4 separate regions of the Homo sapiens genome follow, and all the other regions are linked to region 3. Evidence: promoter capture Hi-C in 16 types of primary human blood cells and fetal thymus (Javierre and others, 2016). All regions are on one chromosome and are shown on one strand. The core of a region is centred on a gene start or on the middle of the fragment in contact, and the rest is flanking DNA. Distances in the headings are between cores, read along the strand shown. Region 1 holds the start of SLC33A1 (solute carrier family 33 member 1). Region 2 holds the start of SSR3 (signal sequence receptor subunit 3). Region 3 holds the start of GFM1 (G elongation factor mitochondrial 1). Region 4 overlaps NMD3 (NMD3 ribosome export adaptor).

Region 1 (3,652 bases), core at 966-3,465, 2.8 Mb after region 3:
TGATCAGAGGAAGGTGGGTGAAGGGTATATGGGACTCTGCTATATTTGCAATTTCCTGTGAATCTATAATTATTTCAAATTAAAGAAGGGGAAAAAATCAAACACAAGACATACAAACTCATCAAGTATTTCCTTTTTTTTTGGAAAAAAAAAAAACACCTACTGATTGTGAATGGCTTTATTGGCTGCTTCCTTTAACTCCCACAACTCTCTGAAATAGATGTTATGAACTCTATTTTAATTTTCATCAAAATGGAGGCTTAGGTTAAGTAATCTGTCCAAGGCACAACTACTGTTAGAGCCAGGGTTTGAATCCAGCACAATATAAATCCCACTCATGGTTGTTTTGGTTTAATCTTGATTGGACTTAAATGACACCGTTCTTTTCTTTAACACCCAGACTGGAGTGCAATGGCATGATCTCGGCTCACTGCAACCTCCGCCTCCCGGGTTCAAACGATTCTCCAGCCCCAGCCTCCCGAGTATCTGGGACTACAGGCATGAGCCACCACACCCAGCTGATTTTTGTATTTTTAGTAGAGACAGGGTTTCACCATATTGGCCAGGCTTGTCTTGAACCCCTGACCTCAAGTGATCTGCCCGCCTCAGCCTCTCAAAGTGTTGGGATTACAGGTGTGAGCCACCGCGCCCGGCCAACACTGTTCTTTTCTGCAATCTATTCTTCTACTTAACAAAGATTAGAGGACTTTACAGTTGCCTTTTTTTTTTTTTTCCAGACGGAGTCTCACTCTGTCGCCAGGTTGGATTGCAGTGGCACGATCCCGGTTCACTGCAACCTCCGCCTCCCAGGTTCAAGCGAGTCTCCTGTCTCAGCCTCCCAAGTAGCTGGGGCTACAGGCGCGCGCCACCAGGCCGAGCTAATTTTTTGTATTTTTAGTAGAGACGGGGTTTCACCGTGTTGGCCAGGATGGTCTCAATCTCTTGACCTCGTGATCCACCCGCCTCGGCCTCCCAAAGTTCTGGGATTATAGGCGTGAGCCACTGTGCCTAGCCTGCCATTACGTTTGTAATCCCAGCACTTTGGGAGGCCGAGGCAGGCGGATCACGAGGTCAGGAGTTCGAGACCAGCCTGGCCAACATAGTGAAACCCCGTCTCTACTAAAAATACAAAAATTAGCCGGGCGTGGTGGCGCGTGCCTGTAGTCCCAGCTACTCGGGAGGCTGAGGCAGGAGAATCGCTTGAACCCGGGAGGTGGAGGCTGCAGCGAGCCGAGATGGCCCTACTGAACACCAGCCCAGGCGACAGTGTGAGATTCCTCTCAAAAGAAAAAAAAATAATAATCTTTCTGCCAGAGGTGAGAGAGCAGAAAAAAAATTAATCAGATTCTCAAATTCCTGTACGTCTCTTAGTAGAGACGGGTTTCTCCTTGTTGGTCAGGCTGATCTTGAACTCCCAATCTCAGGTGATCCGCCCGCCTCGGCCTTCCAAAGTGCTGGGATTACAGGCGTGAGCCACCGCGCCCGGCCACAAGACGTTTTATTGCAACATAAAAACAGGATGTAACGAGTCTTCCAATCACCAATGTAATTAGAGTTGGTTACCAAGTTTCCCCACGCGTCTTCCACCATGAGGGAGAAACGGACTGCAGACAAACCTAGCACCCCTTGAGCAGTTTAATTCGTACTATAAATATGTAGGCACCGTAAGGACGCGATTCTCCAGTTTGCCAGGCCTTTTTCTATCCTTTTGGGGGCACAAGGCGACCTTGCCTCCTGATTCAAAAACTTCGTAAACGTCAATCCTTCTACCCTTTTCTGGTCAGCCCACGAAAGCAGCAGCATGGCACAACTCCCAGCCTAGAGTTCGGGCACTGCCTGTCGTCAGCATAACGAAGAAACCTACACCCACGAAGACTTCAGACCCCACGTGATTACATCACTCAACCACCAGCGCTGGCCTGGAGGAACCCGCTGTCACGTGACCGCTCGTGCCCAATGACCGAGGCCCACGCTTTCCAGACCGCCACAGTCGCTGTCACAGGGCCTGAGTTTGGGCGGCGCCCCGCCCCGGCCGCACGGTGCGCCGGCGTTAATCCTCCCCGAAGGTTCCGGCAGCCAAGATTGCAGGTTCCCACCAAGCATTGTTTCCGAACTGGGCCACGAGAGCGTGTCCCTGATTGGCTTGCTCTGGAGGCTGGGAAGGGACCTGTTAGAGACTGGGACCACTTCCTGAAGCGCGAGGCAGGAAGTTATATGCTTTTTCTGGAGTCCTGTAGAGAAAGTGCTCTCTGCCGCATTGATAGCAGCGAGAGCTGGAGGTGTTGGGTCGGGAGACCAGCCGTTCGATCCCGCCGCAGGTAGGAGCTGGTTTCCATCCTGGCACCACGGCACACACCTCCAGCCTCGAGCCCGGCGCTGCTGCCCGGGGGTCTCCTTCAGGCTCTTTGACGCCGTTCCAGGGGGCACCTATCCAGGCATCCTCTGGGCCTCTAGCCAGAGGACTGGCTCCCGGCTTCAGCACTCCGGGCTGCAGTAAGAAGTGCCCTTATCGCTCTGAGCCCTGCCACCATCCCGTGAACCACCGAAACCCTGGTCCAGCGCGACAGCCTTGGACCTGGGACTGGACGGATCCAAAACGCTCAGCCTCGGCCCCCCACAGACGGGGCTCTGCATCGTCTCTGATATGTCACCCACCATCTCCCACAAGGACAGCAGCCGGCAACGGCGGCCAGGGAATTTCAGTCACTCTCTGGATATGAAGAGCGGTCCCCTGCCGCCAGGCGGTTGGGATGACAGTCATTTGGACTCAGCGGGCCGGGAAGGGGACAGAGAAGCTCTTCTGGGGGATACCGGCACTGGCGACTTCTTAAAAGCCCCACAGAGCTTCCGGGCCGAACTAAGCAGCATTTTGCTACTACTCTTTCTTTACGTGCTTCAGGGTATTCCCCTGGGCTTGGCGGGAAGCATCCCACTCATTTTGCAAAGCAAAAATGTTAGCTATACAGACCAAGCTTTCTTCAGTTTTGTCTTTTGGCCCTTCAGTCTCAAATTACTCTGGGCCCCGTTGGTTGATGCGGTCTACGTTAAGAACTTCGGTCGTCGCAAATCTTGGCTTGTCCCGACACAGTATATACTAGGACTCTTCATGATCTATTTATCCACTCAGGTGGACCGTTTGCTTGGGAATACCGATGACAGAACACCCGACGTGATTGCTCTCACTGTGGCGTTCTTTTTGTTTGAATTCTTGGCCGCCACTCAGGACATTGCCGTCGATGGTTGGGCGTTAACTATGTTATCCAGGGAAAATGTGGGTTATGCTTCTACTTGCAATTCGGTGGGCCAAACAGCGGGTTACTTTTTGGGCAATGTTTTGTTTTTGGCCCTTGAATCTGCCGACTTTTGTAACAAATATTTGCGGTTTCAGCCTCAACCCAGAGGAATCGTTACTCTTTCAGGTAGTGTATTTAAGCTATTATGGTGTTAGGTTTATTTATCCTTTTGAAAGAGTGTGTGACGTTGGAGGGAAGCTCATTAATTTACTGGAAATCATTGTATGGGAGATAACTCAAGGTAAGTTTTCTGTTTCGTCCAAATGAGCTTCTTTGAAATATTAAAGCCAAAATGAATGATATTAGAGCAATCAAATGATCACTATGCGGTTAACAGGGAGAGGCAACCCATCAAATAA
Region 2 (3,575 bases), core at 433-2,932, 2.1 Mb after region 3:
GCCAGGATGGTCTCGGTCTCTTGACCTTGTGATCCACCCACCTTGGTCTCCCAAAGTGCTGGGATTACAGGCATAAGCCACCGCACCCAGCCTCTGATTTTTATCTTTTATCTTCTTTTTATATCCTTAGTTTGTTTATAAATAGGCAGAAGAAAATCTAGTTATAGAGACAGATCCAAAAAGTTTTATTTATGAATTGGTCATAGATGGAGAAGGAAAAAAATAATTAGTGTTGAAACCCACTATTTTAACCAGAACAACAAATGAGTTTAAAAGAATGCAACTTAGTGAGATAGGAAAAACTGGGGGAGGAGTATGTGTAAGAGAAAATAATAATTTCTTCTTCTATCACTACCATGTAATAAAATAAAGAGCATTTTTAACATCAAAAAAGACATAAACCCAGATATTTTTAAATGAATACTTTTGATTTTCTGAAAAATTCACTAGATGGTCTTTTTTTCTTTTTCATTTTGTGGTGAATTAATGAAAACTTCTGGCATTAAGGAACACTTGCGGTAGATAATGGAAGGATTTATATTTCAGGAAAACTCACTCTGGTACCTGTATAGAGAATAGACTGGAAAAGATTGAAGACAAAAGCCCAATTAGGACTAGTAATAGGAAGCTGTGGAGGTAGATTACAATTTGGATACTGTGAGGAAGAAAGATATCTACCAAACGGTTAATAAGGAGGCTGGAGGTTGAGGAAATTGTGCCTAATGCACTAGAGTGTTCTCAGTAATCAAAAGTAGCATTTGCTGGGAGTGATGTGGTTGAATTTTTTTTTGAAGAAAAAATGATAATGTGTTGAGTTAAAAATGGAATCTAGCTGTTTTAATAGACATACTTAATCCTTCTGAGCTTCAGAGAGGGAGTCTTGCCTAGCCAACCTGTTCTTAGTATTATGTTTTATTTAGCATGGCTTTGGAAGCCACAAAACTCTATAGGTCTAGTTGAAATAAAATAAAATAGTAGTAACTTGTATCAGACATATATTAAATATTGCCTTCATCAATGAGATCATGAGTTTCTTAAAAGCAAGAGTCCCATTTTCTTCTTCCTACAGAGGTGGCCTATTGTTTAGTGAAAAGAGCCCACGCCTTGGAGACCCACACCGCAGGTCTACGACCCTCAGGCTCTTCAGCTGCAATGGCGGTAATGATGCGCACGTCATAAGATTCTTCAAGGTATTTAATGAAATAAAGGATGTGTAAAGGAGAAGGGATTTTACATGAGTTAGCTATACCTTTCTCTTCTTTCTTCTTCAACGTACTCAGTCCTGGGTACGCACAGAGGGCACTAATGGCGTGGGGCCAGAAGAGCTTTTAATTTTGGAATTCTGAAGAACTGAGAACTCGTGAGTCTGTCAGCAGCTCTGAAGTGGAATATCAATAAAGTTTTGTTAATTTTTTTTAAAGCACCGACTAAACTACAAATCCCTTCTCTCTCCTCCAGGTGGGTGGGTCACGTGGCTTGTCAGGAATCCGGAAGTCTGGCCCGCTCGCCCAATCACGCCCGGAAGCCTATCTAGTGGCGCCAAGCTGGCCAATCCTGGGGACGCTTGCTCTTCGCCAAACCGGGTCCCGCCTCCGCGCGCCGCGCTGACGGGTCGTTAGCGGATACGGCGGCCGCAGGGGCGGAGTCAAGGGCCTTTGCCCGCCTTGGCGGCCGGCTCTACGTTCCCTGTTCTCGCCTGCAGCTCCGCCATGGCTCCTAAAGGCAGCTCCAAACAGCAGTCTGAGGAGGACCTGCTCCTGCAGGATTTCAGCCGCAATCTCTCGGCCAAGTCCTCCGCGCTCTTCTTCGGAAACGCGTTCATCGTGTCTGCCATCCCCATCTGTGAGTGCTGGGAGCGAGGCGGGTTAGGCAGGCCGCCGGCTAGTCGGGCTGGGCGGGGACGTGGCAGGACCCGGCGAGCAGGGAAGGCGTGGGTGCCGGCCGGGGGTCGGCAATCTCTCCAGCTCCCCTGAGCTCGGGGAGGCACGGAGCCTCTTCTTTGGGCACAGTGTTGTCGCTTGGGATTGTCCTGTGCAGCACTCGGGGAGGTCACTTGTTAAAAGTACGCACGTTCCCGAGCTCCACCCCAGGAGAAGGTGGTTAACTAGTTCTGGGGTGGCGGCCCCGAATCTCTATTTAAACAGACAAACTCAAGCATACTGCCTCTGCCCTTTTCTATACAACTGTTGCTTGCCGTTACGAAATTTTAAACTTATTACTTATTTTGCATAAATTAGTTAGGTGAGAAACCCATGAAGTGACCCACTGAATTATAAGTGCATCTTTACGTGAGCTACTTCACACCATTGCATAATTTTCCTGGTTTTTGCAAAAAGAGAGAGGTTGAAGTGCCAGGGGTTAGGGATCTACCTTATTTATACTTTTTAATAATCCTACTGGACCAATTCTAGAATTCTCACTTGGTTGGGAAACTGCAGACTTGGACAAGGTCGTTTTTAGTAGAGCTCAAGTTTCCAGAACTCCTGTCTTTTGCTGCACTGTTGTTGGGCATTTAAAACTAAATGTATTTTTCTCTTTTGTCCTTATACAACCCAGCGTGCCATTAACGTGATGTGAAGCCATATGATGGCTCACTAATTGGACATAGCACTGCTTGGAGTTCTGATAACAGCCACGTCAGCAAGGAAACTATGGTTTGGGGCTGCACGTGGCATTTTGGAATGGCCTGTGTTTCGCATGCTAGTACCCTGATGAATGAAATTTGAAGTCTGACTTGTGATTACGTTGAGCCAGAGTTTGTTCTCATTTTAGAAGTTGAAATCTCATCTGGACTAGTAATAGGAAGGTGATGTTTTTCAAATGTTCTGAACTGGAAAGCTTGAGACTATACTGTTACTGGTTATCTCGCTTCTGAAGATCCTCAGATACTATTGGATTGCATAACTAATAACCTGGTATTTTACCAGGCTTAGCTATAATTAATTTCGCAGGCTTTTGTTGCGGGGTTGTAATGTTTTGCTTCTTTTTGTACCCTTCCCCCTTTTATTTTAATTCAGGGTTATACTGGCGAATATGGCATATGGATCTTATTCAGTCTGCTGTTTTGTATAGTGTGATGACCCTAGTAAGCACATATTTGGTAGCCTTTGCATACAAGAATGTGAAATTTGTTCTCAAGCACAAGTAAGTATGTTTTTCAAGTGAAAGTACGTACTACATGTTATATTTTTATATGTCTTCTTAAAGATCATTTGTGTGTGTTGGTTTTAATAAGCATTAATTTGAGATATATATATTAATAAACATTTTGGGGGAAAGGAACATTGATGCTAGGAAGAATTATTAACTAACTGAAGTAGAGACAATGATCATTCTGACACGGCTACAGAAGCAGATTTTGAGGGTGGAATTAGAACACTTAAACACAGGCCTTAATATGAGGTTCATCAGAGAAACAAACCCACCAAGTAAGTTAACATTTCAGAAGCTAAATGTAATTCCTTATGGAGAGAATTGTTCTGGGCTCTTCACGTACTATTTTTGGAAGTTAAAGAAATGATCTTTTTGTCATTATTATTTTTTGAGACAAGGTCTAGTTCTTGCCCAGTCTGCAG
Region 3 (4,095 bases), core at 836-3,335:
ATACTATTCACCAACCCTTAGGTGCAGGGCCTGGCAAGATCACTTCAAGAAAATACTAGGGCACAGGCACCTTTAGAATCAGCTAGAATATGTAAAAGGCAAGAATCTGCCTACTCACAATTTACTTGCACAAATTTTCAAGAAAACTACATAAGGATGAAGTGCTCTAGGTCCTAAGTTAGTCTTCTTTAATAGGAATTCAGTGTTACACTTTTGAGTATTTGACAATCAAAAACTAATTGGGTCACAGTAAGAGAAAGAACCAAATGTGCTTTTGCCAAAGAAGCTGCAATAAAACCAAGAATCCAACTCACCAGGAGTATCTATAATGTTAATATTGACATCTTTCCACATGGTGTAAGTGGCTGCTGACTGAATAGTGATTCCTCTTTGTCTCTCTAGTTCCATGGAATCCATGACAGCACCAACTCCATCTTTACCTTTCACCTAAACACAAGCACAGCAATTCAGACTTTCTCTGTCCCTGCATTCCAAGAAGGAAAGAAATCTTAACTGAAATGGAAACAGTTGCCAGGTGCAGTGGCTCATGCCTATAATCCCAGCACTGTGGGAGACTGAGGCAGGATGATAATTTGAGCCCAAGAGTTTGAGACCAGCCTGAGCAACAAAGTGAGACCTCTTCTATAAAAAATAAAAATAAAACCAGAACACAGATACTTAACTTAAGCAACTTTCAGATAAGCCTAACTGTCAAAAGTCCGCTGTTACCATTGTTTTAATCTTTCAGGTTTATAAGCTTTATTAAATAATAGCAACAAAACAATTAAAATCTGGTTCTAATTAATCCGGAATCAACCGTGAATATATACCTCATGCATCTTTGCAATTCTGCCAGTGTAGTAAAGGACTCGTTCTGTTAATGTAGTTTTCCCAGAATCAATGTGAGCTGAGATTCCAATATTTCGTATTTTTTCATTAGGAATCACCCCTGATGAAGACCATCGGCAGGCCTTCCAATTAACCTGAAAAAAATACGAGAGCTCAATTCTATGCACCTTTTATAAGAGAGAACAACAGACAATTAAAAGGAGTATGGTGGACATTATTCCTCCAAGAAATCTCACTGGATATGAGATAGCTTGAGAAAGGCACCAGGGGAAACCTTTAAGCCTGGAACTCTTGTAATCAGAGGACAGACTTCAAAACAAGACAGTAAAGACGTATTCTTTTAAAATTAATTAATGAATAAGTTAAATTTAATTAAAATGGGAGACACTTTTTACTGCAGATTTGAAAATACACACTGGGGCAGATAAAATCACAAAGACAGCTCCAAAAAATACTTTAATAGAAAATACAAATTTTAGCTTAAATTTAACTTAATTTTTTTCCCTTTCTCCTTTATTGTAGTTCACAGATGACAAATATGTTTGAGAACTTATATGCTCTATGCAGTGATGCTAGTAGCTCCAAGACAGCCCCCAAAGATTTCCAATTCCCTCCAAACAAAAACAATTCATGAAGCTTGTTTTAACTTTACTCTGGTGGCAGGGGATGGGGATCCCTATTAGATGGAATGAAGATACAATATAAACCTTTCCCTATAGGACTGCACATCCAAAATGCACAATTATTCACGGGAAAAGAGAGGCAAAAAAAAAAAAAAAAAACCTTAGAAAAGGTGGATAAAATATCAAAGTATCTGAGTGACAGACACTTTTAGTTGATTAAACCCTAGGGATACCAGAGAGCGAAACAAACGAGCTAACGAGCTAATGTGCAGGCACCGAGGTGCTTTTCAGCACTGACGAGCGACTGCCAGTATTCGGAGCTGTCAGTCATGAGGACCCAGGGGGTGTCACGGCCTTCCATTGCCCAGAAGGGATCACAAGGTTCCGGGAATGGTCCCGATTTAGCCTCTCTATGCTCCGGTACCTGCTTCCTCTGCCAGCCTAGGGAGGCGGGGGCCCTTCCGCGCCCCAGAGCCGCGACGGCTGCAGCTCCCAGGAGTCTCATGGCAAGCGCAGAGCACGCGTCAAAGTCCCGTGGCGCCGGGTGGGTTCAGCTGCCGGTAACGCACCGGGAAGCGGTCAAAGTCACGCCGGCAGCCAATGTTGTAAGAGCACTTCCGGGGCAAAGGACGCGAGGAAAAAGAGAGTGAGGAAAAGAAAGAAGAGCAACTGGATTGGAGGCGGAGCAGTGCCTACGCTGCTCGCGCGCCGTCTGCCGACTTGGAAGAGAAAGTGCAATCGCTTTGCGGAGCTAAAGAAGTGTTTGCTCCCAGTAAGACGGCATAGGTATATGGGTGAGGGAAGGGAGTCCTTTTGTCTTCGTCTTCTTTTTTAAATATTACCTCTGTATGAAGATACAGAATTTAAACATGGTTGTTAGGCCTATAAAGCAATGTGGAGAAATGTATATAACAATTTAAGTAGAAAAGAGCAAAATTGTCTATTACAAATATTAATAGGTATATATATGACATGGCCTGAAAAAGAACGTGGACAAATTATAGTGAATGAACTATCAATTACAATTACAAATACTTTTCCTCATGTCAAAATGTTATTTGTTATTGTTCGATGTCAGACATTTCATGTCCTGTCCATGTGGAAGACTGCATCCTTGACCATTCTGCTTGGATGTGTTAAGAGGCATGTTGAACCTAACAGGTCCAAAACTGAGCTTCGGATCTTCTTCCCCAAACCTTCCACAGTCTTATCCATCTCATAAATGTAAACTTTAGTGATTCTAGCCAAAAATATTAGTCGCTTTGACACCATGCTGTGACATCTCCGGTCTAATCAGTCAGCATATCCTGTAAGCTCTACTTTCAAAAAGACATCCAGGGCCGGACGCGGTGGCTCACACCTGTAGTCCCAGCACTTTGGAAGGCCGAGGCGGGCAGATCACGAGGTCATGAGATGGAGACCATCCTGGCTAACACAGTGAAACCCCGTCTCTACTAAAAATACAAAAAAAAATTAGCCGGGCGCGGTGGCGGGCGCCTGTAGTCCCAGCTACTCGGGAGGCTGAGGCAGGAGAATGGTGTGAACCCAGGAGGCGGAGCTTGCAGTGAGCCGAGATCACGCCACTGCACTCCACCCTGGGTGACAGAGCGAGTCTCAAAAAAAAAAAAAAAAAAAGAAAATCCAGAACTTACTTCTCCCCACCTCTCAGTACTGCCGTTTCTGGAGGGAACTATTGTAATAGCCTTGTAACCGATCTCACTGCTTCTATCCTTGCTGTTGTCAGTGGGCCGGTTCAGGTGCTTGACTTCACCACACAAAAGAATTTGAAAGCAAGTACAAAGTAAGAGTAGGCAAAAAAGTTTATTGTAAACCAAAAGTACACTCTGAGAGGCAGAGTGGGCTGCTCAGAAGAGAGACAGACAGCCTTTAGTATCTCTAGGGAATTCCCTTTATGGGTGAGGCAGGAGAACAGGGTCTAGAGACAGGGAACCGAAGGCCCTGCTGACTTCCTAGAGCTGAACCAAAAGGAAAACCCCACCTCTCCATGCCCAAGTAACAAAAGGATCGGAGGCTACTCCCAATGCACTGCATTGCAGATGAAAAAATGGAAAGTACCTCTGACTGGTCCCCTCTGGCAAATAATCAGACTGGTAGCAGGCCAAGTCCTCATGTGTAACTTTGTAACTTCACTTCAGCCTCTGATTGGTCACCTCCTGCAACCAAGCAGGCTGGTTATGGGCCACTCCTTCATTTACATAGGGTGTAACCAATGGGAACGCTCTAGAGGGTATTTAAATCCCAGAAAATTCTGTAACAGGTGCTCTTGAGCTGTGGAGTGTACTTTTGTTTCAACACATCTGTGCCTTCATTGCTCCATTCTTTCATTGCTTTGCTTATGTGTTTTGTCCAATTCTTTGTTCAAACGCCAAGAACCTGTATGACTCATAGTCAAGACCCTTCACTGGTAACATGGGAGCTGTACATATATATTCATAAAATACTGGTAAGGTCAAGTATGCAAAGGTGGACCTGTGGTTGGCACAGGTACTTGGCATCTACATGTTCTAACACAGGAGTCCCCAACCTCTGGGCCAGAGACCAGTATCAGTCCATGGCCTGTTAGGAACCAGGCCACACAGTAGGAGGTAAGCAGTGGGCGAGC
Region 4 (3,785 bases), core at 1,187-3,686, 2.6 Mb before region 3:
TATCAGTACTTTTCTAACTCCACCAGGCTTTTAATAGCAAATATTTATAAAAGATTAAGCCTCACACTTGCTAAGCTTATACACTGTAAACTCCCTGAAACAGTACACAGTTTCATGTGTTTGTGTATATATATGTATATATACACACACACACATATATATTTTTACATATATACACACACACACACATATATATACATGTATGTAAATATTTTGGGGAAGAGATACAGTTTTCAAATTCTCAAAGGAGTCCATGAACCACCCCTCTAGAGATACACACTCAAAAAGTTAGCGTCTTAATCCATTTTGGAAATAACAGGCATACACTTTTACACTCATTAGGCAGTTTTGTGTTACTCAATGGCCTAATAGATGTAAGTTGTTTATGCTGACAAAGAAAATCAAGAGGAATGAAACATTAACATTCAGAAGAAGTCTTCTTCCTTCAAATCCAATCTTTATTTCAGACCATTCCAGATATAATTTATTGAGCTTCTTTTCCATCAACAATAGTTATTTTAATTACACGTGAATGTTATGAGTTTTTAAAACATATTACTAAATTACTCCAAACATAAGCTTTTTATCATACATGGCTTCTAATAACTAAAGAAAAAAAAACCTCATAATAACAATATGTCCTCAATAATCTGCTCTCACCCTTACAAACATCAACTCCTATTAACTATATACATCAAATCTATTAGATCCTTTAACAGAAGAACAGATTCAAATACATTTACACTATCTTTACCAGATTAGAAGGACACACTAGAAAAGTACACTATAAAATTGCAAATTCTAAAATCTTTGGCGACACCAACAGAAAATTTAAACCTTAATTGCATGCACTTTACTCCATATACCTTCGTGTAATCTCAGCATATCTCGGTGGTTCTCTAAATGTAAATTCCAACTTTAAAAAGAGCAAAATTGTACCGCACTGTACCTTTGACATTGTTTGCAGAACGAAATCGAGACTTGTTTCGGAATACCTTGGCTGATGTCCACTTTACTTCGCAAACAGGCCACACAAATATTGGCAGGATTTGGACTTATCGGAACACCACACTCACAGCACAAGCTTTAATAAATAAAGGATAAATTTTTCACATTAGATTTTTAAAATACACTAAATTTTTTTTTAGATGCCAAACAAACAAAAGCCTTCAAGTTAGGCCACAGCATCTTTGCCCTTTTCAAAAAAATAACAGAAACAAAGCAACCTGGGCCAGCCAGTGGCTCACACCTGTAATTCCAGCACTTTGGGAGGCTGAGGCGGGTAGATCACCTGAGATAAGGAGTTCAAGACCAGCCTCGCCAACATGGTGAAACCCCATCTCTACTAAAAATACAAAAATTAGCCAGGCATGGTGGCGCACGCCTGTAATCCCAGCTACTTGGGAGGCTGAGGCATGCATATCAAACCCAGGAGGTGGAAGTTGCAGTGAGCCAGATCACGCCACTGCACTCCAGCCTGGGTGACAGACCAAGACAATGTCTCAAAAAAAAGAAACAAAAAAAAGAAACAAAGCAATCTTCAAAGATGCAGTAGATAAAGAATAACCCTGTAATACAGGGGCAAAAACACCAAAAATGGCTATAATTCTAAAAATCCTCAATATAAGGCCGATGTCCTAAAGGTTCTAGAAGGTCAGTACTGTCCAACAGAATTTCATGCCACGACAGAAATGTTCTATTCTGGTCTGTACAACAAGGTAGCCACTAGCCACATGTGGCAACTGGGACATGAAAAGTGACTAGTACAACTGAGAAACTCAATTTATTTTTTTAATTCAAATTTACATTTAAATAGCCAGTATGGGTCTAAACAAGTCTTTTTTATTAAAAGCAAATGAAACTATATTGTCACATTAAAACAAATGGAGGTATATTGATGAAGAATACAAATCTTGCACTAATTTTAATTTTAGATACTGAAATATAATTAAAAATGTTAACGTGCTCTTTACCACACCCAACCAACACTATCCATAAAGATAACATTTATTAATAATTTGTATATATCCTTCCAAACATTTTCTATGCAGACACAAACATTCACATTAACTTTTACAAATAAACAGATAAACTTCCCAACCACAAGTGTAATAGCAAACTTGGGAAAAATTTGAGAAGCACTGTTATTCATTATCCCTTGTTGAAAATTGGAAAACCAAGAAAGAATCAATTAACAAGGCAATAGTGTGTCAATGGCAAAAACCAAAAAGAAAATCCTGTATCAAGAATATGTAAGATCAGTTTGTCTCTTTTTAATTCAACCACCTCATCTCTAAATACTAAGTCTTCAAAAATCTATTTATTCAGGGCATACAGAGGACCATAGCTTAGGTGAACAGTATGGTGTCACTACATTAAAAGACTACAGCTGTCTACTTATCTCTAATGAACATTTCTTCAAGTATATCTCTGGACTACACCAATAGAAACTAATATCTAAATCATTTCTAACAGAATCAGACGCCAATATACTCCAAAGGCAATTAAAAAAAAAAAGCATAAGGACTGCTGAAATATAAACATTTACCCATAGCAGAATTTTTTTTTTAACAGTATAGGAAGTCTATCAACATCTAGAGACTCAGTATAAATGACGGAACTATCATAATTCGAGATGTACTGGGGGCAGAAAAAGTCTGAGAACCCCTAATGTAGAACAACATTGTCCAAAATAAAAGTTCAATAATCTTCCATGTCCAATGGTAGCCACTAGCCACATGTGGCAACATGGCTAGTACAAACGAGCAACCAAGTATTTAATTTTATTCCATTTAAATTAATTTAGGAAACTTCCAACTTAAACTGCTTGGGGTTTATGTTGACAGAGTGGAGCCAGCGGTACCACCTGGAAAGAAAGCAGTTCCTGACAGAGCTAACCAGGCTCTTCCAGAAGTGCTGGTTGTCCGGAGGGAAGTATAATGGTCAAACAACCCATTCCAAGAAAGGGTTCTGTGAAGGGCTTTGAGCCCTTAGACAAGTGTCTGTTAAAAGCTACTGATAGAACAAGGAAGATCAGCACTATGCTGAGCTCCAAAGACATTTTCAGATGGCTTATTCAAACCCACTGAGCTAACTGATGGACAAGGGAAGAGTAAAGCATCACAGGGAAGGGGGCCAAATTTCCTGCTTTCACTAACCACTGAATTCCTATTTTTCCTTTGGTTTTTACTTTTGGCCACAAAGCTAGTTTCTCCATAGTTACTGTTTTCCTGTGAGATTAGGGTCATTCTAGACAGAAGGACTACAATGTTTACAGGGTAGTTGTGGTAAGAAGCCAATTTATTTTAGATTTAGCTAATTGGTCTGTGCTGAACGATTCCAGGATTATCGTTTAAAAGTCTCTGTAGTAATCTCTTTGAAGAGCACTGTATCATTAAACCTATTTAACAGCAAAAAAAAAAAAGTTAATTTGAACTTAAATGCAAGAAATTAAAAATTGATAACTAAGATTTAAGATGTTCAAAATTTAAAAATTACTACATTATAATCTCCAATAAAAATCAGGAAGTCATCCGAGCTACTCGGGAGGCTGAGGCAGGGAATTGCTTGAACCCGGGAGGTGGAGGTTGCAGTGAGCCGAGATCACACTACTGCACTCCAGCCTGGGCAACAGAGCGAGATTCCGTCTCAAAAAAAAAAAGTAAGTAAAAAGTAAATTTAAATAGCCACACGTAGCTAATGGCTACATATTGGACAGTGCCGATCTAAAAGGATGTATGGTAAATATTTTAACCCTCTTAGAGCTTATATTTACTAGAACAAGC

What was found. The method cuts DNA at HindIII sites, captures the fragments that hold promoters and counts their contacts. A CHiCAGO score of 5 or more calls a contact.
Region 1: a contact is called between the fragment with the promoter of SLC33A1 here and the fragment with the promoter of GFM1 in region 3, in 7 of 17 cell types (naive CD4 T cells, naive CD8 T cells, fetal thymus and 4 more). The highest score is 9.3, in naive CD4 T cells.
Region 2: a contact is called between the fragment with the promoter of SSR3 here and the fragment with the promoter of GFM1 in region 3, in 3 of 17 cell types (total CD4 T cells, total CD8 T cells and total B cells). The highest score is 7.4, in total CD4 T cells.
Region 4: a fragment that was not itself captured here is called in contact with the fragment with the promoter of GFM1 in region 3 in 1 of 17 cell types (naive CD8 T cells); the score reaches 7.1 in naive CD8 T cells.

Annotation. Positions count from the first base shown.
Region 1 is chr3:155,852,990-155,856,641 of GRCh38, reverse strand. It overlaps SLC33A1 (solute carrier family 33 member 1), which reads left to right and starts at 2,215. Exons shown (of 6, transcript NM_004733.4): 1 at 2,215-3,419. The coding sequence starts at 2,645. It overlaps LOC105374174 (a long non-coding RNA gene), which reads right to left and starts at 1,889. Exons shown (of 3, transcript XR_924607.4): 1 at 1,564-1,889. RefSeq lists enhancers at 1,628-2,187, 2,558-2,627. The HindIII fragment of the contact is 4,607 bases long and covers 1-2,974 here.
Region 2 is chr3:156,553,224-156,556,798 of GRCh38, reverse strand. SSR3 (signal sequence receptor subunit 3) reads left to right here and starts at 1,682. Exons shown (of 5, transcript NM_007107.5): 1 at 1,682-1,842; 2 at 3,018-3,144. The coding sequence starts at 1,710. RefSeq lists an enhancer at 1,744-1,823. The HindIII fragment of the contact is 5,682 bases long and covers 1-2,840 here.
Region 3 is chr3:158,642,517-158,646,611 of GRCh38, reverse strand. It overlaps GFM1 (G elongation factor mitochondrial 1), which reads right to left and starts at 2,085. Exons shown (of 18, transcript NM_024996.7): 1 at 1,897-2,085; 2 at 831-983; 3 at 315-447. The coding sequence starts at 1,977. The HindIII fragment of the contact is 2,960 bases long and covers 1,488-4,095 here.
Region 4 is chr3:161,222,229-161,226,013 of GRCh38, reverse strand. NMD3 (NMD3 ribosome export adaptor) reads right to left here. Exons shown (of 16, transcript NM_015938.5): 3 at 950-1,084. It also overlaps the pseudogene SRP14P5. Among named protein-coding and RNA genes, the nearest start is that of NMD3, 2.8 kb to the right of the region's middle. The HindIII fragment of the contact is 2,700 bases long and covers 1,087-3,785 here.